Regions from separate parts of the Homo sapiens genome. Here region 2 is linked to region 1. The links are contacts of gene promoters, found by promoter capture Hi-C in human tissues and cell types (Jung and others, 2019). All regions are on one chromosome and are shown on one strand. The core of a region is centred on a gene start or on the middle of the fragment in contact, and the rest is flanking DNA. Distances in the headings are between cores, read along the strand shown.

What was found. Contacts are between HindIII fragments. The study calls those that stand out against the background at their distance.
Region 2: a fragment that was not itself captured here is called in contact with the fragment with the promoter of EZR in region 1 in 1 of the 25 tissues and cell types used here (hippocampus).

The regions. Positions count from the first base shown.
Region 1 is chr6:158,817,540-158,823,789 of GRCh38, reverse strand. EZR (ezrin) reads left to right here and starts at 4,422. Exons shown (of 14, transcript NM_001111077.2): 1 at 4,422-4,473; 2 at 5,624-5,708. The coding sequence starts at 5,697. It overlaps EZR-AS1 (EZR antisense RNA 1), which reads right to left and starts at 5,811. Exons shown (of 3, transcript NR_102425.1): 1 at 5,685-5,811; 2 at 3,197-3,318; 3 at 1,551-1,650. RefSeq lists enhancers at 2,168-2,267, 5,789-5,838 and silencers at 4,139-4,188, 4,249-5,238, 5,379-5,578. The HindIII fragment of the contact is 16,325 bases long and covers 1-6,250 here.
Region 2 is chr6:159,982,995-159,989,510 of GRCh38, reverse strand. All of the region lies in intron 1 of IGF2R (insulin like growth factor 2 receptor), which reads right to left. Among named protein-coding and RNA genes, the nearest start is that of IGF2R, 17 kb to the right of the region's middle. RefSeq lists enhancers at 1,441-2,015, 6,193-6,432 and silencers at 4,720-5,014, 6,020-6,314. The HindIII fragment of the contact is 7,078 bases long and covers 83-6,516 here.

The DNA.
Region 1 (6,250 bases), core at 3,173-5,672:
AAAACTAGCCCAGTGTGGTGGCGTCGCCTATAGTCCCAGCTACTTGGGTGAGGTGTGGGGATCTCTTGAGCCTGGGAGGTGGAGGTTGCAGTGAGCAGAGATCACACCACTGCACTCCAGCCTGGGTGACAGAGTGAGATCCTGTCTCAAAAATAAATAAAATACAATAAAATAAAAATTTCAGACCAATAAAGAGGTAGGAAGGAGGCTATAAAGGAAACCCGTGGACTACCAGGCACCTTAGTCAAGTATTACCAAGACAGTGGAAACCTCTATGCTTCTCTCACTGTGTCATCGCCCTATCCTCCAGATTTAGTCACCGTCTTGCATTTTCCCCCAAGGTTATTAAGGGTGGAAAATAACCCCAATCCTTGTTTTGCCAAGAGTACTCTTTATGTATTTCCCCACTGCCTACTGACTGTTCTTTTGAAGTGACTACAGCTAGATAGAGCTTTGGTCACTTTTTTGTTACTGGTTGAGATTAACCCGGCACCAGTGTGGAGACAGGCTCCAAGGTGATTTGATAGAAATCTCCTGTATCAGTGGATGTGACTGTTCTGGGTACAATGGTTCTAGTCCGTGACACTGTTCTGAGCTTCCGGGAGGGCTGCCCTTCCTCACTTTAGTTTTAACCTTGTCTGAAGAACTCCCAGGAAATTACCAACAGCCCTTCACCAGGCTCAAGAGGCAGACTTAGGATTACCCTTCTCTAGCTGAAAAACTGGAAAATGGAAACCCGGCAATGAAGGGTCATTCAAGGTCTTATACCTAAACTAACAGCAGGGAAGTTTCCAGTAGTCCTGGCTCCAGTGTTTCCTCACTTCCTTCCAAGGCACTGAGTATCATATATTAACAAAAGGATGACTTTCAAACACAAGGAACAGCTTCACAAATGAGGGCTAAAAGGAGAGGCAAGTGAAATATGCGTCAAGGTCCTGCCACATCCTAAGTCAGTTGTTCTCAAATTGTGGTGTACATCATCAAAACCACGTGGGGACTTGTTAAAGAAACAGATTCCCAGGGGCTGCCTGAGACTTAGTCTTAGTGAGCCATAAGTCCTGGAGAAGGGCACTATGAGTGATTCTAATGCATATTCAAGTTTCAACACAGCTGGAGTTGAGTCTTCTGTGTGTGTGCTGGGGGCAGGGGTTTAGGTTCCAAACCCTGATGAAAATAAATTACCCTTAGAAAATCTTAAAACATTCATAAGATACACTGTAAGTGTTTCCTTGGTGGGCAGAACAGTACAGTAACATGTAAATGCTATGTTGTCATACTTACAGTAATGTAAGATACATGATAAGGAATGCATGTACAAATATGACTTTATACTATTTTAACTTATGTAAGAAAGATTATATAGCATCCCTCTGTATCCACAGGGGATTGGTTCCAAGACCTCTGAGGATACCAAAATTCTCCAATGATCAAGTTCCTGACATAAAAGGGTACAGTATTTGCATATAATGTACAAAATCCTCCTGTATATCTTAAATCATCTCCAGATTACTTATAATATGTAATATAATGTAAATACTTGTTATACTATATTCTGTATTGGATTTTTATTGGTATTTTAATTGTAGTATTATTTTTATTATTTTCCAAATCTTTTCCATCCAAGGTTGGCTGATTCCATGAATGTAGAACCTACAAATACAGAGGGCTAATTGTACATAAAAGTTGAGTGAGTCAAATGCTCATATGATATGATTCAGTGACACAAGAATACCATGAAATACATATTATCCTTTCCATTTTACAGATGAAGAGATGGATGCTCAGTCAGGTTGACAGACTTGCCCGAACGGACCAGGTTGGTCAGTTTGCAGGAAGCAGAATTCAGACTTAGCTCTGTTTGCCTCAAAAACCTGCCATCGTTTCATTTTTATTTTATTTTATTTATTTTTTGAGACAGAGTTTCGCTGTTGTTGCCCAGGCTAGAATGCAATGGTGCGATCTCAGCTCACTGCAACCTCTGCCTCACGGTTGGTTTCAAGTGATTCTCCTGCTTCAGGCTCCCGAGTAGCTGGGGTTACAGGCGTGCACCACCATGCCCATCTAATTTTTTGTATTTTTAGTAGAGATGGGGTTTCCCCACGTTGGCCAGGCTGGTCTCGAACTCCTGACCTCAGGTGATCTGCTCGCCTCAGCCTCCCAAAGTGCTGGGATTACAGGCTTGAATCATCGCACCTGGCCGTTTCATTTTTACCACACTGCCACAGGCCACTTCATTTTTTGGCATTCCCCTAAAGGGTAAAGTTCAGAAATGCTCTTCAAGGTCTTGGGGCACCGCTATTTCAAACATTCAATTTAGAAGACAGTATACTTCAAATGGAGCGAGATAAAAATTAGATTAGAGGCATATCCTATTATGAGAGTTGGGAACCCAAACTGGCTAACCAGGCTCCAGGCAGTGATAAGGCAGTGGAGGTATTGATGTCCAGTTGGAAACATTATCAGTGCAGGTAATTTAAATATCTTTCATAGTTTTCTTTCTACTGCAGTTACCATTATATCTTCATTTTATTTATTTATTTATTTATTTTTGAGACGGAGTTTCACTCTTGTTGCCCAGGCTGGAGTGCAATGGTGCGATCTTAGCTCACTGCAAGCTCTGCCTCCCGGGTTCACACCATTCTCCTGCCTCAGCTTCCCGAGTAGCTGGGACTACAGGCGTGCGCCACCACACCCAGCTAATTCTGTATTTTTAGTAGAGACGGGGTTTCTCCATGTTGGTCAGGCTGGTCTTGAACTCCTGACCTCAGGTGTTCCACCTGCCTCGGCCTCCCAAAGTGCTGGGATTACAGGCATGAGCCACAGCGCCCGGCCTATAACTTCATTTTAATAAAAAAGAAATTCAGGCCAGGAGTGATGGCTCACGCCTGTAATCCTAGCACTTTGGGAGGCCGAGGTGAGCAGATCACCTGAGGTCAGGAGTTCAAAACCAGCCTGGCCAACATGGTGAAACCCCGTCTCTACTAAAAATACAAAAATTTAGCTGGGCTTGGTGGCGGGTGTCTGTAATCCCAGCTACTCAAGAGGCTGAGGCAGGAGAATTGCTTGAACCTGGGAGATGGAGGTTGCAATGAGCTGAGATTGCGCCAATGCACTCCAGCCTGGGCAAGAAGAGCAAAACTCCGTCTAAAAAAAAAAGGGAAAGAAAAGTTCAGTCTTTCAGAGGGAATACACTTACCTGAATAGAGGTCAAAATCTCAGAAGAGGCCTCCCTCCTCTCTCTGACCTCTGAAATGCCCTGGATCTGCAAGTGGGAGATAACAGGCCCTGACAAAGGGTTGCCCAAACAGCAGTGTGTCCCTAGGAAGACAGGTTAAGCATCAATTACTATGAGGCTAGCACGAGTTAAGCATTCCACATGCACGATCTCATTTAATCCTTACAAGTCTATGTAGGTGGGGCTACTAGTATGTTCACTCAACAAATTGGGAAACAGAGTTTGGAACTTCGCCCAAAGTCATTGGTTTCTCTTTCTACCAGGATAGATTTAAGTGCTTACTAAGTGTCAGGTACTGTTCCAGGCATCGTACATGTACTAACTCATTATCCTCATTAGAACCCTCTGATACAGGTGCCATAATTATGCCGCTTTACAAACAAGAAAACTAAAAGCAGAAAGGGAGGAGTAAACCCAGGAGAGGAATTCAGGAGAAGCTCTGGTCTCAACCTTTAGCCAACATCACAATCACCCGAAGGGCTTGTAACACACTGATTGCTGGGCTCAGCCCTAGAGTTTCTGAATCCTAAGGCTGAGCAACACCTAATTTCCACTTATGCAAGTTCCCAGTGAATGCTGTTGCTGCTCGTCTGGAAGCCAGACGTTGAGAACCCCTTCTAGAGTGAGCTCTCCCGCAGCAAATTCTACTGGCCCCCAAAGTATGTGTTTTGTGTGTCTTAAAAATTTGTTGAGAACCATTAGCAAAAAAACAAACAAAAAAACTTAATTCCTAGAATTTCAGAGAAATCCCATGGAGCTTTTTGCCAGTCACGTCAAAAGAGGCCACAAACGTGCCACTTAACCAGAGCTTCGGAAAGGCGGCGGCTGGGCCGGCCACGTGCACCGAGACTCGGGGCCAGGTGCAGCCGCCCCAGGGCCGAGGCCTCGGAACTGGCCCCCGGTCCCGGCCCCAAGCGGTCCAGCGATTCCCCCAAGCCGTCCGCCCCTCCAGATTTATTTACGTTTTCCTGACTTCCCCCTGCCCGCTGTGGGACAAACAGCCTCCCCACTTGCATCTGCGAGGGGAGTAGCGCGCACTTCCGCCAAGTTCCGCCCCCACCCAGCCCGAGGCCCGGCTGCCGCCATCTTGCGGGGGGCGCACCTCACAGGTCGGGAGCTGGGCGGGAAGGGGCGTGGTCCCGGGACCCGCCCCGCCGGGGCTTTTGGGAGCGCGGGCAGCGAGCGCACTCGGCGGACGCAAGGGCGGCGGGGAGCACACGGAGCACTGCAGGCGCCGGGTGAGGCGTGCGGCGGCCGGGGTCGGGACGGGGGTTCTGGGCGGGGGGTTCCTGGTGGAGGGCCCGGGCGGGCGGCGGGGTTCGGCGGCAGGTGCGGCGGGCAGCCTAGGGGGCGCGGCGCGGGGTTCTCGCCCGGCACCCCCGGGGCAGGTGGAGCTGAGCCGGCCCGCGGCCCCGCGACCTTCCCCTCGGCGCCGGGTCCCCTCAGGTCTCTCCCGAAGGAAACGCGGAGCCTGGGTGCCTGGGCGCCGTCCCTCGGCGGCTCCCGAGCGGTTGCAGTTTTTGAAAGAGTTTCTCAAAGGCTTGACGGTTGTGACTGCAGCCGCGGGGCAACGGTTGCTACACAAAGTGAAACTTGCCGAGTGCTCGGCTTCTCACGGGCTTCCTGGCAGCCCCGGGAAGTTCCTCGGCGGACCCCGAGCCCGCGCCCCCTCTCCACGGATCCCTCCCCAGCGAGTGCCCCCCCGCCCGCCCTGTGCCCCCTCTCCCCTGACCCCTCCCTGTCGGGTGCCCCGCGGGCTCGCGCTGGCTGTCCCGGGACTCCTTCCTCCTAGGTGTTCCTCCTGCCCCTCGCCCTCTCTCTCCCAGGCGCGCGCTCCCTCTCCCCGGGCCTTTCCCCGCCGGGTATCCCTGGGCCCGCGCCCCCTCTTCTCCGCCTCTCTCCGCTGGGTGCACCTCGAGTGTCCCCCAGACCCCTCCCCGCCCGGCCGGCGCTCTCTCCCCTGACCCTCCTGGCCGAGTGTTCCCCGGGGCCCGCGCCCCCTCCCCCCGATCCTCCCCACTGAGTGTTCCCCCTGCCCTCTCTCTCCCGGGCCTGCGCCCCCCACCAGCCCCTTCATGCTGGGGGTCCCCTGGGTGCGCACCCCCTCTCCTCGGACCCACCCCCAACTGGGGGGCACCTCCAGTGCCCGCCGGCTGCCCCTTGGGCGCGCGCCCCCGCTCTCGGGCGCCTCCTCGCCGGGGGCCCGGCCCGGCCCCGCCCCGCCCGTGCCCCCTCCCCATGCCCGCAGTGCTGGGCGGGGCGCTGACTCACCCGGGCCCGGGCTGGCCGGTTCTTAAGCGGCAGCGCGCTGCGGGCGCCGAGTGTCGGGCGCGGCAGGAGGACGAGGCAGGGCGGGCGGGCGCTCTAAGGGTTCTGCTCTGACTCCAGGTTGGGACAGCGTCTTCGCTGCTGCTGGATAGTCGTGTTTTCGGGGATCGAGGATACTCACCAGAAACCGAAAATGCCGAAACCAGTAAGTTGCCCAGTTTCTGGGCCGGGCGGACGGGAGAGGCTTCATTGGAGAGGGGAGGCACCTGCTCGAGGTGTTGGGGCAGTTCCTGGGGAACAGGGTTCTTCTCACACGCAGAAGACGATAGGAATAGGAGGAGGTTTTCGCCGCTCTTTGTTACTTGTTGACCCTTTTGTGGAGCGTTAGGAAAACACCATTTTGATGCTTTTCTCTGCAGTCTTTTTCTTTGTGAGCCCCCTCCCCAGTAGTTACGGTCTTTTCTAAAAACTAGAGGCCTTTTTACACTGCTTCCGTCTGTTTTTAAAGGGTATAGTAATACAACTTAGAAGTTTCTTAAAAAGTCCAAATCACAGGGAGACTCAGATGGCTTCCGACCACACACACCAGTTCTCAGAGCTCCTAAGGGTCCGAAACCACAGGCGCCCCAGATCCAACTGGGGAGATATTAAAGGGCGTTTGGGAGAGGAGACTGGCTTTCGGAAGTTGCCTTTCAGCTTCGCTTCCTACTAGGCCCATGAAGCGGTGCCCTGTACACCAGCAAACTT
Region 2 (6,516 bases), core at 2,372-4,871, 1.2 Mb before region 1:
CCCATCCAGGAGTTGTGGAGGCCCTGGGGGTAAGACCACCATATATATCTACATAACTGTGTTATTCACCCTATGCAGTACTCCCTTGACGACAGAAGCACTCCCTCACAGAAGGAGCCGTCCACCTCCCAGAGCTTCCTTCCACAGTGCACCAAGGCAATGACTCAGCACAAAACCAACCACCAGGCCCCCCCACGTGCCCTCCTCCCCAACCCTGAACTAGTTTCAGCAATGGAGGAGAAAGAGCAGCCCTGGTGGGGTCACTGGAAGACGAGGCGCCAAGAACTCCTAGGTCTGGGAACCCATCAAACCCCCCTGCCAAGAAACCAAACCGCACACATAGGCCTTCAAAAGCATGGAGACTTGGAAGGTCTGATAGCCACTAAGCAGCTACAGACCTGAAGAGCAGGCTGGGGTACTCAGGTGCCCAATCTTAGGGTGATACCCTCGGGGTATGACTCCTCAGCTCAGCTTTTTCAGCAGGAACATGTTAAGAGGTGTCTCCTAGAGTCAAGATGACTCAAGGACATGAGAAAATAACCCAAGTATTACTGGGCACAGAGAAAAATCATCAATAAAGGCTTGTTTCCTTTGCCCTTCGTTAACCTTTATTCATGTGTTTCACAAGTATTTCTTAAGTACTTACTGCGGGAGGCACAGGAGAGTACAGCAATGAACAAAACAAAGACGCCCTGCCCTCTCGGAGTGTATATTCCAGGTTGCAGGATACAAGATAAACAAGTAAACAAAGACTTGGCTACTACTCAGGAAAAATGCTAATCTCTTATTCAGGAGCCATGACTAGTTTCTCCAGGATAACAGAGACAAACTTCAAGTAGCGGCAGTGGCATCATTAAACTATTTCACAATCCTAAGTATATGATATTGGTGCATGAGGGTGTCATTTAAAATGAGTTAACTGGTAGGAATCAACGCTAAAGAGATCCACACGTACCTAAAATGCTATGCTTTTCTTTTTTTTTTTTTTTTTTTTTTTTGAGACGGAGTCTCACTCTGTCGCCCAGGCTGGAGTGCAGTGGCGCAATCTCCGCTCATTGCAAGCTCCACCTCCCGGGTTCACGCCATTCTCCTGCCTCAGCCTCCCGTAGCTGGCACTACAGGCACCCACCACCACACCCAGCTAATGTTTTGTATTTTTAGTAGAGATAGGGTTTCACCATGTTAGCCAGGATGGTCTTAATCTCCTGATCTCGTGATCCGCCTGCCTCAGCTTCCCAAAGTGCTGGGATTACAGGCGTGAGCCACCGCGCCCGGCCTGCTATGCTTTTCTTAAAAGAAATCCACCATTCTTGCAAAGGGGATATCTAAATAAGGTAAAGAGTGTGTTTGCTTGGGGAGCAGAATCAAGATTTAAAAAAGAATAAAATGAGGGATATTGTCCTGATAATCTGGAAATCAGGGTTGCTAGAAAGAAAAGTGTTGCTCTATTCAATTATATTATTTTCTCTACTTGGATTTCATACTTGTTTTGTCAAGATTTATCAAATGTAAGTGGTTATGGGAGTAGGAAAGGAGGAGCCTATTAAAATACTTGAAACACTGACTTTTTTCAGGGGGGTGATTTAACCACTCAGCACAAGGCAGCCCTCCTCCAGGCCTGGCAACCTCAATGCCATTCAAACCCATCAGCAGCACTTGAGGCGAAGGCACCAATATCTCAGAGTTCTTAGTCACAGCTTTAAAATGAAGAATGGTCACAGCAGGTTTCTAAACTTCACTCCAAAGACACCTGCAAGCTGTCAGTACTTAAAACATTCTGATGTTTCAACGGACATTATGTCTCCTTTAAAACAAACTAATGGCAGGGCGTGGTGCCTCATGCCTGTAATCCCAGCACTTTGGGAGGCTGAGGCATGCAGATCACGAGGTCAGGAGATCAAGATCAGCCTGACCAGTATGGTGAAACTCCGTCTCTACTAAAAATACAAAAATTAGCCGGGCGTGGTGGTGCACGCCTATAGTCCCAGCTACTAGGGAGGCTGAGGCAGGAGTATCGCTTGAACCTGGGAGGTAGAGGTTGCAGTGAGCTGAGATTGTGCCACTGCACTCCAGCCTGGGCAACACAGCGAGACTCTGTCTCAAAAAGAAAAAACGAATATGCCTAGCCCCTAGTATCAACAGGAGCTCAGAAACAGTCATGTGGTTTAAATAATCTCTCTGAAAATTTATGAAGAATATTCCAAAAACTATTATGTACTCTGGTATGCACCCTGGTTAAACTATCACTAGATATGTTTCCACTAAAGTAAATATTTTTTAAAGACTATTTCATAATAAACTTGAAAATCGTATAAATAACTGACAACAAGTTTTAAGAAATCACATGTTTGAAACTAAAGGATTCTAAATTTCTTTTCAGATTAAAGGCCAAGCCCCTAGAATGGCCTAAGCTAAAATCATTCTTAAAATTAACTTGATATTAAAGTTTAAAAGCACCATGATCACATTATAGAACTAGAAAATGGTTTCAGAAGCAATAAAATTATTACAGACTAAATAAAATGTAATGATATCTTTGAGGAATAATAAATTTTTTGTCTGAAAGTTTGTCTGTTAGAAAATTCTCTACCTGAAGTGAACATGTACAGCCAGAATTAGGAAACTATTCCAAACAGTATGGTTCATTTAACAGCCAAGCAAATGAAACCATTCAGCTGAGATTCCCAGAAAAAGCCTACATTCTAGACTAAGTTATCTGAGCTTACACAAGTAAAGACTTAAGAAAAAAGCCAACAGAAAAAAAAAAAAAGAGATCAATATATTCAATCAAAGAGAAAACTAAGCTGTAACAGTAAGATGTTAAATGTTAGCAACAAACAAGCTTCTGGAAGAAAGTATCTGCAAGCTGTGTGGAAACACCGTCTTCACTCAAACACACACAAAAGAATGTGTTGAATACATTTTCTGAAAGAAAGAACTTCAGGCCATGCGCAGTGGCACATGCCTGTAATCACAGCACTTTGGGAGGCCAAGGTGGGAGGATCACTTGAGGTCAGGAGTTCGAGACCAGCCTGGCCAACATGGTGAAACCCTGAATCTACTTAAAAAAAAAAAAAAAACACACACACACACACACACACACACACAAAAATTAGCCAGGCATGGTCGCGCACGCTTATAGTCCCAACTACTCGGGAGGCTGAGGCACGAGAATAGCTTGAATCCAGGAGGTGGAGGTTGCAGTGAGCCGAGATCGCACCACTGCACTCCAGACTGGGTGACAGAGTGAGACTCCATCTCAAAAAAAAAAAAAAAAAGTTCTGCAGCAGGATAGGTAAGAAAGCCCAGTGAGCATTTTCCTGAAACTCTGTCAAGTCTTCTAAAAGTCACTGACTCTATGCTGTATTCCATCTCAACTGAAGGAAACCAGCGGGACACAGGAGAGGAGCGGGGAGAACTGCAAAGGCCCCCACAGAAGCGGCTTGTCCACTGGAAACAACCCAGGATCCCTGTCCGTTGTCCCAGTTGTACAAAATTCAGTGACCATCCTCAAGGGAGGCAGCCTGATTTTAGTTAAAATCACTCTTCTGGATGCAAAACCATCTTTCCAAGAACGCTGGTTCTTCAAAACCATCACTCTGGGACAGAAAATGTTCTAGAAAATCAGCAAAAATAAGTAAAATCTTTGCTATTCTATGTCATTTTTCAGAGCGTAAAACAGTTAGCCAATGGTCCCTCTCTCATTCTCAAAAAATCCAAATGCACTCCAAAGGCCAGCCTGACAGCTGGAGAGACACACATGTGCTGCAGCAGCTCCTCCAGACAGTGCTCCCCGGCTGAATCCACAGCTCCAGCACTAGCTGCCATGGCACTTCATACAGCTCAGTGGTGGCATTTTCTGAAGTGTCTGTTATCCCCAATGACACCGTCACTCTGGGACAGTAATGTCTTCCCTCCTGGAGCAATGACTGGCAGATGCAGGATCAGCATCTCTACTGATGGCTTGAGAAGGAAACTGGCCAGTGGCTAAGAACGCATGACAGCACGGCTCTCACCCACACAGCTAACATGTGAGCCAAATCTCCCCACAGAACGTGATGCCATTATCCAACCCTCCCAAGTTCCTCAGCTTTGAAGCCAAATATCCCAAGGCTCAGAATGAGGAACTTGCCCAACATCACGGAATTATAAAGTGAAGAATTAACCTAGGCGGTGTGAGGCCCACGGGTGAGTCCTTAACCAATTAGGTAAACGGCTTCATTTATTTTCCATTTAAAGAAATGGTTTTAACTTTTCAGAAAACATTTAGTTTCAGTTACAACACAAAAACTGGCAAAACATTCCACAAAACTTTAGTTTAAATCTTGTCACAATAAATGCCATTAAAAGGACAGACTCTGTATGGCATAAAGATCTCTGAGTTCCTATTATATTGCCAACCATCTACACAACTTGATTCAATAAAATGCTAGTCATATAGAAAAATTACAGTTATCCCTTCGCAGCACCTTGTAATCACAGATACAAGACCCCCAGTAGAGGCCTGGAACCAGGAATACGGTTTCGGATATGGTTTTTCCTTTACATACATACCCATGATTAAGTTTAATTTATAAATTAGTTGTAAAAGATTAACAACTAATAATAAAATAGCACAATTATAACTGTAATAAAAGGTATGTGAATGTGGCATCTCTCTCTCAAAATATCTTCATATTTTCAGACTGCAAGTGACCATGGGTAACTGAAACCTCAGGAAGTGTAACTGCTGATGGGGGGACTGGTTTATAGTCACTCACTTAATGGCGATACGTCATCAGAAATGTGTCATGAGGCAATTCTGTCACTGCTCAAACATCATCGAGTGTATCTGCACACACATAGATGGTGTCGCCTACTACAAACCTAGGCTATATGGTATGTCCTATTGTTCCCAGGCTACAAACCCACACAGCATGACGCTGCACTGAATACCCCAGGCAACTGTAACATGTGACACATATCTAAACGTAGAAAAGGTGCAGCAAAGATATGGTATAAAGGATTAAAATGGCACACTTGCCTAGGGCACTTATAATGAATGGAGCCTGCAGGACTGGAAGCGGCTCTGGGTGAGTCAGTGAGTGAGTGGACCTAAAGGCCTAGGACCTGACTGGACGCTTTCATAAGACTGGTAGCGCAGTGGGTTCGTTTACAGCAGTATTACCACAAACATGTGACTAATGCATTGTGCTACGACATTACAATGGCTACAGCATCACTAGGTGATAAGAATTGTTCAGCTTCATCCTAATCTTCTAGGACCAAGGTCATTTATGCAGACTGTAGTTTATGCAGTCCGTCATTGGCCAAAACGCTTCTCTTCTCGTTTTTAATGTCATGGATACTACTTATATCGTAAAGGCAGAATTCTCAGAATGGTTGAACCCATCTGAGGACAGCCTCTATGAAAAAGCTGTGAACTGTCTGAAGATTCAGACCACATCACATCATGCTGATCAACAGATCATATGCTTTTCCTTGCTCAACTTCTTCCCCAAGCTTAAACTTCTGCTACTCTATACTCCCAGTCCAGTTCTGCTTTCTCTTCTGCACAGTGTGAATTGCCAAACACCAGAGCATTGCCTTCCACAACCTCTCTTCCCATACCCAACTGGTTTCCATGGAAATAATATCAAGTCCCTCAGCCGGCTCCTTCCCACTGGCTGCACTGTCCTTGCTATTTCTATGTAAGCAGCTTGTGAACTCTACAAACAAGGTCCACATCTATATTGTCTTCCTCAACTCAGATGCACACTCTCCTTTAATGAGACTACTCAGCTCAGCAGAGTCCAACAGTGACACAACTCAGAAACATTCTACAATCAAACCATCAGGCCCAGCAGGAAACGGGGAGCAGCAGAAGTCAAATACAAGGCAAATGACTTTAGAAGATCTCTGCTTTTAAAGCAAAGTCTGTGGCAGAAACATACCCTATTTTTTTAATTTAACAAGGGCAATTAATTTAACCATATAAACCAAGCACACAGTCGGAATCTTTCCCATAAAGAAAGCTCAGATACTGTTTTGCTCCTGACTGTAATCTCACTGCTTCTGCTGAAACTATCCTGGAGAACTGCAGTCAGTCCACGCCTGTTCAGAAGTACAGAGGTTCCATTTTAACCTCATTTGCTTGAAATTTCATAATATCCTGAAAGGTGTTGGCAGATTACCAATTAGAAGGAAGCACACAAGTAACAGACTGTCAGCTGGTTAACCCAGAGACAGGAAGGTGTTTCTACTTTCCTGCTACTGTTCCAGCAAGGGCCGCAATCGAAACCCACCCTGGTCCAGACGAAACCAATCGAGGGGCTGCAATGAAGAAGTCAATGTAGCCCCAGGCCGACACAGCTGCCTAGAGTTCAAAAAGCTTAAAACAGAGATGCAGAGCCATCTCCACTGAGTGAGTTCTAAATGTCTGTCCAAAAATGAAAAATAAAAAATTCAAAATACAATGTCATAGGGATACAGATATAGAATATCTTTAAACTGACATTGGTATCTTAATATGACACC